Regions from separate parts of the Homo sapiens genome. Here all the other regions are linked to region 3. Evidence: promoter capture Hi-C in 16 types of primary human blood cells and fetal thymus (Javierre and others, 2016). All regions are on one chromosome and are shown on one strand. The core of a region is centred on a gene start or on the middle of the fragment in contact, and the rest is flanking DNA. Distances in the headings are between cores, read along the strand shown. Region 1 holds the start of ATP1A1 (ATPase Na+/K+ transporting subunit alpha 1). Region 2 overlaps CD101-AS1 (CD101 antisense RNA 1). Region 3 holds the start of WARS2 (tryptophanyl tRNA synthetase 2, mitochondrial).

Region 1 (4,125 bases), core at 651-3,150, 2.8 Mb before region 3:
GTGCAGTGGCGCCATCTCAGCTCACTGCAACCTCCGATTCTGTGGTTCAAGCGAATCTCCCGCCTCAGTCTCCCGAGTAGCTGGGATTACAGGCATGTGCCACTACGCCCAGCTAGTTTTTTTTTGTATTTTTAGTGGAGACGGGGTTTCACCAGGTTGGCCAGGATGGTCTTGATCTCCTGACCTCATGATCCGCCCGCTTCGGCCTCCCAAAGTGCTGGGATTACAGGCGTGAGCCACAGTGCCTGGCCCAGGAGTAATTAATCTTAAACAAGCTATCTTTAGCAAGCAAAAGCATCTTACAAAGTACAGTAACTGAGGCTATCAAGCATGTAAAGAAAGCATTTTCTAGAAGCTTAGAGATGGATCCCCGAACACTCTGTAACCCTCTGTTAACAGTCTAAGGAATTCTGTTCTGAATTTGGGGGCTCTTCTCCAGGCAGTCAGGGTTTTGAATTCTATTTACAATTCCTCTGCTCTCTATGGCCTAGAATGATTGAACCAAGTCTCTAGATCACTGTAGGAGACATCAACCTTTAACAATACATTCTTGAGGAGAAGAGACTCGTGTAAGAAACTATCTTGTAAGAAGGGATGAGAATTACCCTAATGATGTAACTGACAACACAGTTTCTAGTTTTTCCTTTCTTTCCTTCCTTCTCCATTTTTTCCAGTTTCATATCCTTGTTTGTTCATGCTACATGAATACTTGAAGTTGATAGAGTTGGCTTTAACTTAGGAACCTTTGCTTAGAAAGTCAATATCCTGGCCTTTCCCAGAGTACTTGACTTCCTGCAAACCTTGTTAATAATACTTTGTTTTTTAAAATGTTGGAGAACTTCAGCCATTGCAGCCTCTTGCTAAGAAGCAAAAGCTATAATGACAGAGAAGCCCCAAAGTGCAGTGGAACCAGGGATCTCCGGGGAGAGTGGTGGTTTCCTGGGCCCCCCCAGAGAACCCAAGGCTGTGCTGGAGATGCTGCCGTGACAGGTGGAGGCGTGGAGAGGCACCTGGCAAGTCCTCAAACGCCTCCCCCTTGATTTAGCTCCTCTAGCTAAGGATACGCATTCCTTTGGGTTTCAGGTTTTTCTTCCCTAAAAAGAGAATCCCCAAACTGGACAAGCAGGTTACATTCACACAATAGCGTGAATGAATTCGCTGGTCGCCCTTCAGATTCTCATTTTGGAATCTCGAAGAAAGAGAGGTGGTGGGAGGAGGGCGCTTGAAACTTCTGGCGATGCCAGTTCAGATCGATTCCAGCTATGACGGAGCGGGAAGTGGATAAAGAGGACCCCAAGTCACAGGAGGCACTCTGAGAGCACCAAGCGCCCGGGGAGGCCATCCGCAGGTGGGCGCGGGGCCTGGATTCCACAGAGGGGCGGAGTCCCTCAGTCAGGCGCTGGCTGCAATCACACCCGAGCGCCAGCCCCCTCCAGCATCCCTGAGTCCCAGAGGAGATCGCCGAAGCGCTGGAAAAGCCGTTCCGCCCACGACTTCTGGTGCCGGGTCGGCGGCGACTGGGGGAGCCCAGTTCCGAGACCGTACCGCACCCACTGCGGACCTCCTGGGCCCTACATAGTAGGCGGGTCATGCAGGGCAGCGGGAGGAGGGGCGTGGGAGGGCCAAGGCCGCCGAGTCCCCGCTGTTCAGCCAGCAGGAGCGCCCCGCAGCCCTCCCGGGACACGGTGGACACGCTTGTCCCAGACCTGGGCGCCCTCCTGCCGGGAGCCAGGACTGGCCGCAGCAGGCGCTGTCCGGGCCCGTGGGCGGGGTTTCGGGAGGGGGCGGAGCCAGGCCCACGGCCGGTGTCAGGTTGCTCCGGTAACGGTGACGTTTCGCGGCGTGGGCGGGGCCAGCACGCAGGTTGCATATTTTAGGAAGTGAGGAGGAGGCGCGGGCTGGAGCTGCGGCGGGGTCTGGGGCGCAGAGCAGCGGCGGGAGGAGGCGGACACGTGGCAACAGCGGTAGCAGCCCGGGCGGCGGCAGCAACAGCGGCGGCGGCATCGGCCCGAGCCGCCGGCCGCCCTCCCACCCTCCCGCCCCGCGGCAGCCCTAGCTCCCTCCACTTGGCTCCCCTGGTCCCGCTCGCTCGGCCGGGAGCTGCTCTGTGCTTTTCTCTCTGATTCTCCAGCGACAGGACCCGGCGCCGGGCACTGAGCACCGCCACCATGGGGAAGGGGGTGAGTGTCCGGCGCGCCCGGGGAGGGGGCTCGGGGAGCCCTCGAGGGGAAGAGGAGGAAGTCGGGAGGGCGACCGCGGCCAGCGGGAGGCGGCGGAGGAGGAAGCGGCGCCGCGTGGAGTGGGCTGGCAGAGCCGCGCGGCTTAAAAGACGACGCAGTTTGGAAATGGAGGGAGCGCAGTAACGGGGGGCGGGGGAAGGGAGCGCCGAGGGGCTGGAGCGCGGCATTGCTTAGGGGGGTGGGCGGACCCTGGGCGGGGGCTGCGCGCCCCGGAGGCCGAGCGGGCCGGGGGCTCCGAGAGGCGGTGCTTGGGAAGCCTCGGGGCCGGGAGGAGGGGGCTTGCAGCAGCGGGGGCGGCCCCGGGACTGAGCCGGCATCCCTGAGCCTGGCTCCCCTCCCTGCGACCGCCGTCACCTCCTTCTCCTTCCTTTTCCCTCCGCCCTCCGTGCCCTGAGGAAAGGCGCGCTCCTCCCCTTCCCCTGGGGCGCTCCGCCGGGGCCTCCTCCCGGGCCTCCGTTCCCGCCGCGGCCCCGGTTCCGGCGGGGGCAGCCTCCGGGTTCGGGGCTCCTTCTCCTGGGGACGCTGGGGCTTAGCTTGCTCCGCGCAGAGGCGGCCGCCCTCCCCCAAAGAAAAAACTGGCTGCTTCTAAGTGCGAAGCCGGCTGGGCGGGCTGGTGCCAGAAAGGGTGTGTCTTCACTGCCCTAAGATGGCCTTTAAGGTATACTTTTGAGGGCTTTCTTGGGCCACTTTCCGTAAACACAGGATGCACCGATGGCAACTGGAGTTGTCATCCGATGGTGGGGAGAGGCGTGCAGATTTTTTTTGAAGGGACGAGCCCTGAAGGAGGATAGGCAGACCCACCAGGGCCTCAGGGTACAAGAAACCCGAAAAAGGACTGGAGGCTGCAGGCAATACGGTGGTAGGAATCTCTGCCGGTTTCCAGCGTCGCGGAAGCACCAAAGGGCGGTCCCTGAAGGAAACGAGGGGTCTTGGGGCTGGAGAGCGGCGCGGAGCGTGGTGGGAATATCGTCACAACGCCGCTGTCCTACATTTCTGTAGCGAAGACTTGATTACCCCTAGCTATTACCCGTGCAGGAGACTGGGCCCTGGACCCCAAATGAGCCAAAGTCTAGTTGAGAAAAATTTACACAGAATAACCTCGGAGTTCATGGGGTGAAAGTGACCATGTCATGAGAATACAAATGGGAGAGAATCCACTTCGTTGTCTCCAGGGTTTAGCACAGTGCAGACACTGAGTAGGTCTTTGAAGGCCCTGAGGCTTCTGGGTGTAGACAGAGTGTCGGGAGCAGAGGGAGGCTGCACTCCTTGGGGACTCTAAGGGAGTTTTAAAGGAGGTAATTGAAAGGCTTGGACCTGGTGGGGAGAACAGGCACAAGTGGAAATGCACAACTCGCCTCGCTTTTAAAAGCATGCAGCGTGGAGGGCTGGTCCAGGTCAGGTGGCATCAAAGAGCGGAGTACAGGGCCTCTCCATTCCCCTGATGGAGTCTGGGTTAGTGGCCTGTGCTTTTACCACACCGTCAAACCCTTGATCATTTCTGTAAACATGCACTTTAAAGCTCATTCTTTGTCTCTCCTGCCTTAAAAGAAAAAGAAAAAAGTTTACTTCCTGAGCTAATTTTGGGGGGTTTAGACATCACAGATGTGTGCCCCAAGCCTAGGAAGGTGAAGTGACTTGCTCAAGGTCAAACGGTTGGCTAGTGACAGACTAGGCGTCCCTGATTCTTGAACAGCCTGTGGCCTCAAGCCTGAACATGCATTTACTCTTTAACATTGAGTTCTTTATACAGAACTCAGAACTTCGGATGAAACGGGGTATTTGTGATGTTGAATTAATAGGCCATGGAGATGGTTTGGGTAACTAAGTTATGTCCATTTATCTAGATGTCTCCTTTATAACCACACACAGGCACACATGCACAGTA
Region 2 (4,522 bases), core at 1,444-3,943, 2.1 Mb before region 3:
TCCACCTTAGTGCCATTTGTTGCTTTCCAGAAAAAATGCAACTCAGAAACAAAAAGAAAACAGAAAACAAAACAAACAAGAGGCCGGGTGCAGTGGCTCACGCCTGTAGTCCCAACACGCTGGGAGGCCAAGGTGGGCAATCACTTGAGGCCAGGAGTTCGAGACCAACCTAGCTAACATGTTGAAGCCCCGTCTCTACTAAAAATACAAAAATTAGCTGGGCATAGTGGCATGCGCCTGTAATCTCAGCTACTCGGGAGGCTGAGGCAGGAGAACTGCTTGAGCCCGGGAGGCGAAGATTGTAGTGAACCGAGATCATGTCACTGCACTCCAGCCTGGGCGACAGAGTGAGACTCTGTCTCAAAAAACAAGGAAAAAAAAAAGAAATACAACTCAGGATGGCCACCAGAAAACAAGTACATAGCCACTGGAGGTCTTCAGGTTCTAGGTTATCTTGAATGTGTAAAGCAGCGAAGGTTTTAGGGAACAAATGAGCAGTGAGGGTTGAGGAGAAGGTTAGAATTAAGCAGAATAACTGGTATAGGGTTAGGGGGAAGAGGGAAAAAACAGCTTGGTATAAAACTTGAATTAGATACCAAAAAAATGGGTAGGAGGACATGAATAAGAAAGAAAGGATTAATTAGAGGAAAGTTAGGATTGAATAGCTAAGATGAGAACTAGGCAAGTTTAAGAGGTGTTCTGATGAAGGTACAGAGACGTGGGGCCTATGACTGCTCTACTGCTGACAGTATAATAACATTATATGCCATATAAAACAATGGGAGAAAAAAAGAAAAAAACACCAATAATCCTACCATCTTAAATAAGCATTGTTATTATTATTTTGGTACATCCTCTTTGTTATTGTTTTCTATGTGACTGCTTTCAATATCTTTATTGGATTTTAAAAATCGTAACAGAGCAATACATGCTAGTTGTAGAAAATAAAAACTGCACCAATCTCCCAACCCAACCTCCCAGAGGTATATAAATGGAATCATACAGCATATAGTCTTGAAAGTTAATAGTTTTGATGCCAGGTGTGATGGTGTACACATGATCCCAGCCCTTTGGGAGGCCAACGCGGCAGACTGCTTGAGCTCAGGAGTTTGAGACCAGCCTGGGCAACATGGTGAAACCCTGTCTCTACAAAAAATACAAAAATTAGCCAGCTGTGGTGGTGTGCTCTGGTAGTCCCAGTTACTCGGGAGGCTGGAATGGGAAGATCACTGGAGCCTGGGAGAACAAGGCTGCAGTGAGCTGAGACTGCACCACTTCCAGCCTGAGGGGCTGAGTGAGACCCTGTCTCCAAAAAAAAAAAAAAAAACAAATTGACATGACTATACTCATAGTACATAGTACATTGTATAATGTTTGTTACTTAACATTATACAAATGATTACTATGTCTTTTTATGTCTTTGTATTAATAACAATTAATGTCATTTTAACTTAGGTTTAAGTTCCATACAAACGTTAAAGGAAAAAGACTTTCAAGACCATTTAAAAAGAGGAAGATGATGGCTAAAAAGCACACGAAAAAGAGTGCCACATCAATAGAAAAATCAAAATTCAAACAAAAGTCAGATACCACTTCATACCTACTAAAAAAGGCACGCAATAACAAGCATTGTTGAGGACATGAAGAACTGGGAACCCTCATACGTTGCTGGTGGAAATATAAAATGGTATAGCCACTTTGGAAAGTGGTTTGGCAATTTCTTAAAAAGTTAAACAAACTAACCATATGAACTAGCAATTCCACTCACAGGTTTATCTGCCCAAGAGAAATGAGAACAAATGTTCATATAAAGACTTTAACGTTAGGCCGGGTGCGGTGGCTCATGCCTGTAATCCCAGTACTTAGGGAGGCTGAGGCAGATAGATTACCTGAGGTCAGGAGTTTGAGACCAGCTTGGCCAACATGGTGAAACCCTGTCCCTACTAAAAATATAAAAATTAGCTTACGTGGTGGCTCGAGCCTATAATCCCAGCTACTCGGGAGGCTGAGGCAGGAGAATTGCTTGAACCTGGGAGCTGGAGGTTGCAGTGAGCCAAGATCATGCCACTGCACTCCAGCTTGGGTGACAGAGCAAGACTCCATCTCAAAAACAACAACAACAAAAAACAAAAAAACAAAAACAAAAACAATAAAACAGACTTTAACATTAATGTTCATAGCAATATTATTCCTAATAATTCCAAAGGGAAAATGATCCAAATGTCCACCAACTGGTGAATGAACACAATGGAATATTACTCAGCAATAAAAAGGAGTGAAATACTGATACATGTGCAACATGGGTAAACCTCACAAGCATTATGTAAGTGAAAGAAGACAGAGGCAAGAGACTACATATTACATGACTCCATTATATGAAATGTCCAGAAAAGGCAAACTTATAAAGACAGAAAGCATATCAGAGGTTGCCTTGGGACTAGCTGGGGGTGGCAGTTGGGATTGACTGCACACAGCTTTGAGGAAAGTTTTTGAGTGATAGAAATGTTTTAAAACTGGATTCTGGTGGTGATGGCACAACTTTATAAATTTACTTAAACAATGAATTGTGGGCCAGGTGTGATGGCTCATGCCTGTAATCCCAGCACTTTGGGAGGCCGAGGCGGGTGGATCACCTGAGTTCAGGAGTTCGAGACCAGCCTGGCCAACAGGGTGAAACCCCATCTCTACTAAAAATACAAAAATTGGCCAGGCGTGGTGGCGGGCACCTGTAATCCCAGCTACTCGGGAGGCTGAGGCAGGAGAGTCACTTGAACCCAGGAGGCAGAGGTTACAGTGAGCCAAGATCATGCCACTGTACTCCAGCCTGGCAACAGAGTGAGACTCTGTCTCAAAAAAAAAAAAAAAAGAATTGTGGCCGGGCGCGATGGCTCAAGCCTGTAATCCCAGCACTTTGGGGGGTCGAGGCGAGTGGATCACCTGAGTTCAGGAGTTCAAGACCAGCCTGGACAACATGGTGAAACCCCATCTCTACTAAAAATACAAAAATTAGCTGAGCGTGGTGGCACAAGCCTATAATCCCAGCTACTCAGGAGGCTGAGGCAGGAGAATCACTTGAACCCAGGAGGCGGAGGTTGCAGTGAGCCAAGATCCTACCATTGCACTCCACTCCAGCCTGGGTAACAGACAAGACTCCAACTGAAAAAAATACCTGTACATTTACCAAAAAAAAAAAAAAAAAAAAAGAAGAAGATAAAGAGCCTGCATTGAACCACTTTTGGAATAATATTTTAAGAACAGTGAAATTTGGAATCTAGTACTGAAAAAATATTGGTATAACAAAATAATTTGTAAAGTCTCTTGGCTTTACAAATTATAACCACATTTGTTCTCACTATAGTATCATCCTGATCGAGCCTATGTCAAAGGACAAGTTGAAAACAGTCATATGTTTGAAAGGCACAAAATGAAATGAAATGAAATTGAATTACCATTATATATCTTCAAACAAAAAGAATGAAACAGAGGAGGGTGGGCCTCAGTTTGGTTTTTATGTTACTAGGCTGCTACCTAGTGGTCATTTATAAAATGGCAGGACTTGGGTTTTTGGTTTTTGTCTTGGATTTGTTGAGCCATGTCTCTACACCACAGCAAATACCTAAACACTTACCGATGTGTGGGTTAAATATCTGAATGCATTGCTGAATAATTTATGCTTTATAAAAATACTATAGGCTGGGCGCAGTGGCTCAGGCCTGTAATCCCAGCACTTTGGGAGGCCGAGGCAGGTGGATCACCTGAGGTCTCAGGAGTTCGAGACCAGCCTGGCCAACATGGCGAAACCCCATCTCTACTAAAAATACACAAAATTGCTGGGCGTGGTGGTGGGTGCCTGTAATCCCAGCTACTTGGGAGGCTGAGGCAGGAGAATTGCTTAAACCTGGGAAGTGGAGGTTGCAGTGAGCCGAGATCACGCCACTGCACTCCAGCCTGGGCGACAGAGCGAGACTCCGTCTCAAAAAAAAAAAGAAGAAGAAGAAGAAGAAAAAATACTATAGTGGCAAGAACTGGATTGAAAGTTCTGAAAAATGGCCTTTAGTCCCTGATTGGCTGCTGTCAGCTTTGTGACTTTGAGCCAGGTCAAAATTAATCCATGGGGACTATCCGGTTCCAAAGTTTTAGGAGCAGCTCTGTAAGGTAAGTTGGCCTTGGGGCCACCTCCTTAACTGCTCTAAACTTTAGTATCTTCATCTTAAAAATGGGGATAAAAAATCCCATCCCTAGGCTAGTTGTGACAATTAAATGTGACAATGCATATAAAAGTACTATCTCAGAACACACCTCAGGAAAAGTTAGAATATGACTTTCCCTCTCAGAATGTGCCTAATAGGGAACAATCTTTTATCTGCCAATTAAAATTACTCCTTCCCATCCTATCCCAAAGCAACAAGCAAAAACACCAGAAGTTCAGAAAAGTAAATATGATTCTTAGAATGATCTGCTCATTTGAAACATAAATTTGAACAATTTAATTTAAAAAATAATCAATAAAGCATAGCCGCTA
Region 3 (4,503 bases), core at 728-3,227:
GTCTTTCAAAAAACCACATTAATCTTTCAAACCATCATTTTCAATGACTGAAATTATATGTAGATTTATACTTTAAAAAAATACTCTCACATTTAATACTTATTCTACTCAAAGCTAAATTAAAGGTTTAGAAACATTCATCGGTACTGGAAATTCTACATCTTGAAACAATCTAGATTAATAATTAACTTTAATAGCCCTATTCATAAATGCCACTGAAACAATAGTAGAGGTTTAAGAAATTTTTTCTTTAGCATTTATAATGACTTAGTGTCTTAAACTTCCCTGGGCAGTCATTAGCAGGCTGCAGTTTGTCTTTTTTTTCTCTCTCTCTTTGATTCTCTATTCTCAAGACATCTTCAATTCTTTAGTTTGGAATAAGGGGAAGTTTGGGTCTACGGCTTAGCTACTTTGATAGCATAGGTGTTAATGTGCTATAAATTATAAATAATCATCTCATTCTAGTTCTGCAGAATCAAACCCTCAAATTTCAAGGAGAGGAATTTTTGATAAATTTATCTAATTTTGAATTGTCTTACCTAACATTGCTGCTGAAATTTAAGGTGACATTTGAATAGTTGTTTGCTGACAAGCAGCTTTCCGGTATATATTAATATATTAGCTTATAAGAATTTTGTGAGGCTCACATTAATAAAAAACGGAAGTTCAAAAAATTTATGACATGACTAGAAAAATAAGTTGAACTTAAATTTTGGTTTTCATAATTACTCTCATTGGCTTTGTTTTGGCTTCATAATCATGGAACTATAGATTTTCCAGAGGTTGAAAGAACATTAACGTGTCAATCAGTCCAGCTCTCTTCCTCCACTCAATATGAGCAAAAAAAGAAGAAAAGTCCCAGAGAGATTGTGACTTGTCACACAGCTGTCAAGTGGCAGACCAAACCCTTGACCTCTAGGCTACCTTCCTGTCTAGCGCTGTTTTCAACACAACAGTTACAATAGGTGCGACATCCTCACACCTACTCATTATGGCAATACATATGCAAATGATGCCGGGAAATTACCTAATAAAATCACATTCTCTCCTTTCTCTCTAGTTCCCAGAATATATCTCCCGTAGATAAAGTATGTCAAAGTGCTTGCCACTGAGACTGTACTTGGAAGACGTTTGGTAAAATCCTGAATAACTGAAAGGGTATCCCCTCCCCCTGACTTTTTTGCTATGAGGGTAAAATTCCAAATATTTAAGACAATTCCCAATAAGACCAGGCCGCGACATGGTCTCCGTACGACGAGATTAATGGTAACAGCAGTGTTGTCAAGCGCAGGACAGGACAAACTCTGTAGCAGCTTGCGGTCACTCTTTCACAGCCTGCTAGATAGAGCAGTGCTGTGGAGCCACCAGGAGCAACCAGAATGGAAGATGCACTGACACTTGCTCAAGTACCACACTGCCAACCTGCTGCCCCGACCCAAGCTGCCCAATGCCTAACAAAACTTCTCTACTCTCTCCGATAGCCCCTTAGCGTGTTGTTAGGGTAAGGAGGGTAAAAACAGTAATAAGACCACAAGAAGAGCAGTCTCTAAAACAACCCGTCTCTGAAAACATCACACGCGGGGTAGGCTCACCGCGTTGCCCGGCAACAGCGGCGGCGCTCCGCTCCCAGAACTGGAGGTGGCGGCAAGAGGTCAGAAAGCGGCGCGCTTTTTCCACCAAGAAACCTTTACGTCATCACGTATCCTTGCAACGTCACTACGCTCTGAGCAGGCCGACAGTCATAGACGAGTAGACCTTAGGCGAGGGAAGGCATGTACTTTCCCTAAGAAGCGGGAGGAGAGAAATAAATAGAGGGCAGTGGGATGAGAAGAACCTCGCGGGATGGGAAGCCGCGGAGGGAAGGGCCGTCTTTGGTTACCTGGAGAGCGGGAGCAGCTGCGGATCCCTTATGAAGTGCCCGGATGAAGCTCCAGCGCTCACGCGCTTTCCGCATTGAGTGCAGCGCCATCTTGAGAAGGGCGGAGCCGTCTTGTTTGGAATGACGTCTGTTCAGAGAGCCAATCCCAGTCTCGCGACTCCTGCTTGCTGGGCGCGGCTTGGGCCTCCAGGCTGCGCAGCGCAGCCGCTATCGGGCGGACTGCAGTTCTTGCCGAGCAGGTGGGGACAGGAGCGGGGTGGGGCTTTAGTGTTTTTCCCTGGATCCCTTGTCTGCTCAGCCTTCCTGGAAGGAGAATTTCCTTGGGGGTTATTAGTAGCAACGCTTTAGACTGGAAGAAAGTCAAGTAGGCTGCATTTCTGATCTTAGCTATGTGAAGGCAACCTTTAAAAAGTTTGTTTAGAAACTCCCAGTTCTCTTAGAGGGTAATATAAGTGGTCTTTTTAGACATGTGTGGCCTCATTTCCCTTTTTTTTCTTTGAGACAAGGTCTCACTCTCGCCCAGGCTGGAGTGCAATGGCGCGATCTCGGCTCACTGCAACCTCCACCTCCCAGACTCAAGCTATTCTCCTGCCTCAGCCTCCTGAGTAGCTGGGACCACAAGGGTGCGCCACCACGCCCGGCTAATTTTTGTATTTTGGTGGAGACAGGGTTTCACCATGTTGCCCAGGCTCTCTCAAACTCCTGAGCTCAAGCCAAGCCATCTGCCTCGGCCTCCTAAAGTGCTGGGATTACAGGCATGTGCCACCGCACTGGACTTATGTGGCCTTATTTCATTCGTCCTGTAAACTTTGTTGAACCCTACCGTAATGTGCTGGGCACTGAAGGTACAGAGAAAGACATATCTTGTCTTCAAGTTGTGTACAGTCTAATAGAGTAGCGGATAAATAAATGATGTACACTTAATAGGTGTTAAAGAAGCAAGCACCGCAAGTTTTAAGGAGGAGTGGTTATGACTGTGGTGTTTCAACCTAGTCTAGGGAAGGCTGCAGGAAGGTTATACCTGATGGAAGAAATTGTTTTGTTTGGGGTTATGAGAAAGTTTAATACAGTTTTTCTGCTTCTGTTAATTCACCTAAAAATCTCCCAGACAGATAACGAGTGTTTCAGTAAAAATATAACTGGAAGAAATTCATGACAATTCCTTTATGTGTTTTGTTTATAATTCATCCAGCTACTGAAAATTACCAAGGAGAGGTAGGAGATAAGAGATGCCTATAAAGGAGCTGAAATCTACCAGGGTAAGACAAAACAGTAAATTAAAACCATATAGGATAATCTTGTAGGTATACAAAGTACTGGTGAAGTTCAAGTATAATTGGTGTAATTTAGAAGTGAGCAGGAAAGGGATGAAGGCAAAAAAAAAACTAGGAAATCAAGTTATAGTCTTCAACAAAGCTGATCAGTTTGGTTTTGGCTGTTAAATTTGAGGTGCTTGTAGTACTTCCAAAATGTGATGCCCATTAAATAGATACATGGGTCTGGAGCTCAGAAGAGATTTGAACTACCAAACAGATGGTAATTGAAACCAAGGAAATCCTTGAGACCATCAGATAGAGTTTGTGGAGTGAAAGTAGCCAGATGATGGAAATAAAGGAGCCAAGAGGTGTTGTAGAACCCAAAGAATGTGATATTACTGAGACCCTGGAAACAAACCTTGCCAGGGGAAGGGGGATATATGTTATGCCTTGTAAAATGCAGTTTAATAAATGCCCTACATGTTTTACTCATACATAGAGCAAAGCATTATAGTACAGTGTTTTACATATATTTTATTAATGAGATTACATGACCCTAGCAATTAGCAAGATTAGCTTTCTGACATCTTTAGTCATCTAGATAGCAAGATAAAACCTAGCAATAAGACTATGGTGCACCAAAAGCTGTCAAAGGGTGTACCTACTTTATTTCTTCAAGAAGTAGTTCTTAGTCGTATCTGCAGACTCCTATGACCAATAATATTTCCGTGGGAGGTATTTCCAAGACATAGTCCCACTAAAAAAGGTGGGACTTTAAGACCACAAGTTTTATAACTTTAGTATCCTGATTTTTAAAATTGAAAATATTTGCTAATTTTTAGACTTTGTTAGAAGTAATAAACTGTGTTTTGCACCGTGGCGGTGACCTGGTAACTCTCAGGTGTCACTCAGCCAGCCTTGCTTCTTGGACAAGGACTATAGTTTATATTTCTAACATCTCCCCCAGCACCTAGAATAGTCTCTTATGCAGAGTAGGCACCTCTTTTAAAAGTAAATTGGATTTTAACAAATTACACAGCTTATTGTCAGCAATTGTTATGCTTTTAACAGCCAGAAGGAACAGTTAACAGAAAAGACACAGGATGTATTAAAAATGAACCAGTTCTGTCTACTTTTGTACTTTTTCACAGTAAGCATTTTGGTGTTGGGGAAAGTATGACTACAAAGCTCACCATCTTCTAAGAGGAGGAATATATTCAGCTCAGTATATTTAACGTATTTTAATAAGTTTTTAATAATGGTAACCATGACTCCTCGGGGAAAGATATATTATTCAATGTATCTTTGAAGAAAAAACCTACAATACACTTTTGAAATGTTTTCATACAAAATGGTTAACATTTAAAA

What was found. The method cuts DNA at HindIII sites, captures the fragments that hold promoters and counts their contacts. A CHiCAGO score of 5 or more calls a contact.
Region 1: a contact is called between the fragment with the promoter of ATP1A1 here and the fragment with the promoter of WARS2 in region 3, in 1 of 17 cell types (total B cells). The highest score is 5.7, in total B cells.
Region 2: a contact is called between a fragment that was not itself captured here and the fragment with the promoter of WARS2 in region 3, in 1 of 17 cell types (total B cells). The highest score is 6.0, in total B cells.

The regions. Positions count from the first base shown.
Region 1 is chr1:116,371,344-116,375,468 of GRCh38, forward strand. It overlaps ATP1A1 (ATPase Na+/K+ transporting subunit alpha 1), which reads left to right and starts at 1,901. Exons shown (of 23, transcript NM_000701.8): 1 at 1,901-2,180. The coding sequence starts at 2,169. RefSeq lists silencers at 1,528-2,057, 2,488-2,787 and an enhancer at 3,158-3,277. The HindIII fragment of the contact is 4,966 bases long and covers 354-4,125 here.
Region 2 is chr1:117,052,002-117,056,523 of GRCh38, forward strand. All of the region lies in intron 1 of CD101-AS1 (CD101 antisense RNA 1), which reads right to left. Among named protein-coding and RNA genes, the nearest start is that of CD101-AS1, 5.2 kb to the right of the region's middle. RefSeq lists an enhancer at 1-73. The HindIII fragment of the contact is 6,290 bases long and covers 1-4,522 here.
Region 3 is chr1:119,138,676-119,143,178 of GRCh38, forward strand. WARS2 (tryptophanyl tRNA synthetase 2, mitochondrial) reads right to left here and starts at 1,978. Exons shown (of 6, transcript NM_015836.4): 1 at 1,880-1,978. The coding sequence starts at 1,969. WARS2-AS1 (WARS2 antisense RNA 1) reads left to right here and starts at 1,721. Exons shown (of 7, transcript NR_125975.1): 1 at 1,721-2,118; 2 at 3,072-3,138. RefSeq lists an enhancer at 1,750-2,059. The HindIII fragment of the contact is 7,742 bases long and covers 1-4,503 here.